Regions from separate parts of the Homo sapiens genome. Here region 1 is linked to region 2. The links are contacts of gene promoters, found by promoter capture Hi-C in human tissues and cell types (Jung and others, 2019). All regions are on one chromosome and are shown on one strand. The core of a region is centred on a gene start or on the middle of the fragment in contact, and the rest is flanking DNA. Distances in the headings are between cores, read along the strand shown.

Region 1 (2,700 bases), core at 85-2,584, 380 kb before region 2:
ATGCTGATTTCACCCTTTCTTCCCTGGCCTTTTCCTTAGTACCATCTTCCTGAGGATACAACTGGCCCACTCATCAGCCTTCTAGGTAAGTGGCACAGGCTCCAGCTACCTTAAGTGGACTACCTGGCTTCCCTGCTCACTGATAGGGTGTCCTGGGACCAGGCACTCGAACTCGGTAGGGTTTAGTTTCCTTGACGGTAAAATAGAAAAGTAAGCCTGTTTCACAGCACTTCCCTGAGGATCAAATGAGGCACAGTTTGAATTGTTCCCACACAGAGTAAATAAAGGCAGGTTCCCTCCTGGCTGCAAGATAAAAAATGGGCAGGGGAATCTCCCTTGAAGAACTGGCACGCTCCTTTCTTTCAGCTAATGCCCACCAATATGTCCATTGCTGTTTGGGGTGCAAGAAATTTTAGGCTCAGTAAGGACAATTCCTCCCAATGGTTTGGATAGGGCTGTCAGAACTAAATTCAAGTTGTTCGAAGTCTCCTTCCGCCCGCCCTGCCAACTTGCCTCCCTCTTCACCCTCCTAATAGGAGGTGAGCCCCTCCAATAGCGATCATTAACTCACCCTAAGGTTATCCCCTTGCTGCAACAACCCGTGAATTGCAGGTTCATTCAATGCTCTTTAAATTATTTTTAAAGGCTTTTTTTTTTTTAAGTAGCAAAAGAATGCATGACACCTATTGTAAACTGGCAAGTTGAGGGGGTGGGATGCCGCTCAGACGTGTACTGAGAAAGGTGATAATGAATTTGGCGTCAGCAATTCTTCAGAAACTATAAGAAAACACCCAGGTGTTCGAATTGGTCCCAAAAGGGAAACAAATCCTTCCCAGCTTTCACGATGCGCTGAGGTTGGTTTTCTCAGTGCTCCTCCCAGATCAGGAGGTGGGGAACCTCGTGGCAAGCCCTGGGGCTCGGGATTCCCGGACTGTGGGCCTGGGGGAGAGAGGCGGCTCTCGTGTGCACACTTACCCCGCCCCCACAACACACACGCGGTCACGCACCACAGACGGGCACACGCGCTCAGCACAGCCACAGTCGCGTGCAACCAGGAGTGCACACCGCACCCACATCACACCGCATGCACAGACGCACGGGTGTGAGACCACACACCTCGGCCACTCACGCTCACACGCCCCCCACGCGCTCGCACACGCGCTCGCACGCGCACTCCCCGCGCACCGCCGCGCGCACACGCGGGTCCCGCCGGACGGCGAGGGGCGGGGCGGGCGCGGGCGCAGGCGCGGGTGCCCAGCCGGGCGCGGTCGGGAGAGGGCGCGGCGCGGGGTTCGCGGCTGGCGCTTGAGTTGTTTGCCGGCTCCCGGGCCGCCAGACGCTCGGAGGGAGCCCGGCCGGCTCGGACTGGGCGGCCGGGAGGGAGGGCGCCCCGGGTCACGACGGCGCCCGCAAGCCGAGCGCGGCCGGGACGTGCACCATGGACCCAAAGGCGGGCGGCGGCGGCGAGGAGGACGACTGCGTGGACTCGGGCGCCGAGACCGGAGGGTGAGCCGCGCCGGGCCGGGCCGCGGGCGGGGGGCGCTCTCCGAGTTGCGCGGCGGCTCCTCCCCGGACGGGGACCCTCCTGATCCGTGCGACGGGACCGGGGCGCGGGGCTTCTCCTCCTGCCGGATCCCCCGCTCTCTCCTGGGCGGGCCGCGCTGCCCTGGGCAGGGCGGGCACCACCCGGGGGGAGGAAAGTGGAAGGACTCAAGGTTCAGTGCAAGCCCACCCATCCTGTGAGGCGATGCAGAGCGCCAGGCGGATGCAAAGACCCCTTGTCTGCATCGCTAGAGACAGGAGATGCTCTTGCACTTGTTTCCTCCTTCCTCGGGGACTTTCCTCCTGTAGCTCCGGAGCCCCCTGGAGTCCGGCCCTGGAGATCGGGAGAGGAAGAAAAGCAGGGTGGGACACCCGCACCTAAAAGTCTTTCCGAAGTCGGCTAGGAGGATGGCATTTCTCGTTATATGGCTTCATCGTGGGACTTTAATCTGTGCTGCCGAGTCCCCCTCCCCGACTCCTCCAGTCCCGCCGAACTTCCTCACCTCTAAGTGCACCTGTCCCAGCTGGACCCTTTGGCCTGTTGTACCGGCGGGATGGAGATGGTGTTGGGATTAGGATCTAGCCCTGCCTTTTTTTTTTTTTAATATTCTCTTCGCTTCAGCGGACTCAAACAATGGGCTCAAACCTTTGGAGACTAATTAGTTAGTCTCCAAACACTGTTTTCCTGAGCGGAAGAAAAGACAAAATGCCTTTTAGGAGATGAATGTCGTTATAAAGGCTTCCAGGCAGCCTCTGTCTCTAAAGGACTTTCCTGTGCAGAGTCAGCACCACATCCAGGCCGCGGGTACTGACCCAGGAGGAAAGGGTGTTTTTTCCTATCTGGAGTAATCCTGGGGGAGGGCGGGAGCTGCCTAGACTACAGAAAGCCTCATTCCTGGAAGGTCGGAGAGGTTTTAGACTAATCTCAGGATTTGGCAACCCTGTGAGGGCAGGTAGAGAATCCAGGCCCACGATCGACCCAGAGTTCTAACCCAACCCCGGCAAAGCTCCCCACAGGGCCCCTCCTGCCCCACCACTCCTAGCCCAAATGCGGGACTTTACTCCCTAGGGCATTCACCCAGCAATGGGCTTTCTCTGTTATCCAAACTTATTCATAGCTCTCTACAGCACCCAATTATAATCTGGTGGAGTAACCTG
Region 2 (2,700 bases), core at 148-2,647:
ATTGTTGCTTTTTATTTTGTGCATCTGGATTAATATTCCTGGAGTCAGTTTACATGCCTTGCTGTTAGAATCTCAGTAACCTGTTTTAGTGTTCGTTGGGGGAGAAGGAGTGTTGGAATGGCTAATTCATTTCATTATATTTCGATTTGGGGGATATTTTTGAATTTATATTTGAATAATTAATTCTCTTTACATGTCAGAGCTTAGATTGTTAAACAGTTTTGAAAGATGAGTAATTTTTATCTAGAAAATAAAATTAAATTAAGGAGGTTAATCTGCATGCATAGTTAGCTGAATTGGCATGCTGTTTGAATGGATTAAATTGGTTTGGAGTTTGGTTGCAGTGTGACTTTTCTGACTTATTTTTCTTATTGAGCTTCCATTTGGGAAATTTCTGTCACATCAGATATGCAAAATATAAATCTTTGAGTTCGATGTGGATAGGATAGGGCAAAGTTTGAGAAAGTAAAGTTCACCGAATCCTAAAAGGTTCTGTCAACCTTAAATAATGAGATTCAGAAAATATGATTTAAATACAGTTTGAGTGCAAAGCTTGAGGATGATCACCTGGAAACACTGACTCCAAGTGAATGGGCTCAGTGTTCCAAAGTGAAGTTAAGGTTTCACTTACATGGGTAGAGACAGAGAAGTTCCAGCAAGATTGCATTGTTCATATAAGACCAGAACATACACCACAACGATTTGATTGGTTACAGATTGCTACATTCCAGGGAAGATTCCTTACTCCATGAGAAGGGACAAGGATCTGAGGGGGTCTTATCTCTGGTGCTGCTTGGCCTTTTAATTATTTACAGGAAAAAAGGCAGAAGTTGCAGCTGTACACCACGTGACTTGGGCTGTGTAGCCATATTCCTCTCAAGGCTCAGAATAAGTTAAAATTCCAATAGCTTTAAGTTGGAATTATTTTAAGTTTGAACAATTTAATTTCACAGTTCAGTGTAGTATACGGAGAAGAAGCGGTCCAGAAAAGTTCTCTTGAGGCTCTGGGGGCATGTGTGGGCTTGTCTACAGGTAGATTATATTTCTCCAGTGTGTGGTCCTCCTCCCACCTCACTTTAATTTTTTGTTTTCTTTTTAAAAATGTTCTACTTTACTCTTTAATAATTTCTCATTATTGAATTAGTGGAAGTATAGATCATTGTCAGAATTGAACCCAGAAGAACTGTATACTATATACCAAGTTGTTGCTTTATTGATAAGTGAACAAACGGTTGAGTTCTTGAGATTACTGTGTTGAGATTTCCAGTGCTCATAGGCACTTTTCTAAGGGTCTTTGGCTATAATTGAAGTTCTTATATTTTGGTCATAAGAACTTCATTGATGTCCTTACCATTATATAATTACTGGGAAACTACATTCTTAAGCCTGAAGGACTGAACTTGAACTTGAAAACTTTTGAAGCAATGAACTGTTTTCACATTGCACAAGTAAGTTTGTCCTTTGAGGGATGCTGCTATAGTCACTATTTTCAGGACCCGACATTGCTTATTTCTGCTTTTTCAAAACTTTTGCTTAAAAAGTTTATCTGTCTGTTGCTTTTGTTGCCTAGTAGTTCATGCTTATGTATGTGGAAAAGTGAGGTTAATGATGGCAAAAAATCCTGGATGGATTTGCAGAGAGAATGGGATCAAAATGGCAGAAACATTTAGTTACTTGAAATGGAGTTTAGCTAGGAGATTGCAACAATTTGAAATAAAATAATCATAGTACAAAAGAAGTAAGGTTTTAAAAATGTTACTTATTTGGTAGTTTGTTTCCCTTGAAGAAATTCTGAATATTTGAATGAAAAACAGCAGGTAGAAATAGATACTAGCATTTACATTTACAAAATAATCAACCTTGGTGGTTTTTAGTTGATGGTACATGTATATGCAAAATTCAGAAGGCTATGATGAGTGAAGTCTCCCTCCCACTCATGGGTTTTAAGATTTTGTGAAAGGAAAACTGATAGGATTTCCACAAGGTCTAATATATATGCCCTGATATGGATCTCAGTGGGCATTTCTGCTTCAGCTGTGTTAAACTTTTCCCTTATAAAACTGCTTTGGCAGGGGCAGGTGTGGTGGCTCACGCCTGTAATCCCAGCACTTTGGGAGGCTGAGGTGGGCAGATCACCTGAGTTCAGGAGTTCGAGACCAGCCCGGCCAACATGGTGAAACCCTGTCTCTACTAAAAATACAAAAATTAGCTGGGTGTAGTGGCGGGCACCTGTAATCCCAGCTACTCGGGGGCTGGGGCAGGAGAGTTGCTTGAACCCAGGAGGTGGAGGTTGCAGTGAGCCGAGATTGCGCCACTGCACTCAAGCCTGGACAACAGAGCGAGACTCTGTCTCAAAAAAAGATAAAAATACAAATAAATAAAACTGCTTTGGGAGGTCAGGGTCACAGGGATGCTAAGATTGCTGCCTTGTTACTTTTCTGCTTACGCCACAGTGGACCCCTCTCTGAAAAACACAGCCCTCCTAGGTGCAGGGGGCATGCAACAAGGATCTTTCACACAGGGCAGCCAAGTCTTACCCCTCTACCTTCTCTTCCTGAATATGGAGAAAAGTTCTTGGCCTGATCCCTAAGGAATTCCTCATTTCTTTATCCTAAAATCACTGTAATAGGACTATGTGTACTCGGAAATGGGTTTATCTTGTATTCTCTATCCAAAGAAATATATATGGTTATGCCGGAG

Evidence for each region. Contacts are between HindIII fragments. The study calls those that stand out against the background at their distance.
Region 1: a contact is called between the fragment with the promoter of FAM124A here and a fragment that was not itself captured in region 2, in 1 of the 25 tissues and cell types used here (dorsolateral prefrontal cortex).

What each region holds. Positions count from the first base shown.
Region 1 is chr13:51,221,064-51,223,763 of GRCh38, forward strand. FAM124A (family with sequence similarity 124 member A) reads left to right here and starts at 1,335. Exons shown (of 4, transcript NM_001242312.2): 1 at 1,335-1,506. The coding sequence starts at 1,439. RefSeq lists an enhancer at 483-1,273 and silencers at 1,054-1,103, 1,224-1,283. The HindIII fragment of the contact is 11,319 bases long and covers 1-2,700 here.
Region 2 is chr13:51,596,006-51,598,705 of GRCh38, forward strand. All of the region lies in intron 1 of WDFY2 (WD repeat and FYVE domain containing 2), which reads left to right. It also overlaps the pseudogene ATP5PBP1. Among named protein-coding and RNA genes, the nearest start is that of WDFY2, 13 kb to the left of the region's middle. The HindIII fragment of the contact is 4,599 bases long and covers 1-2,700 here.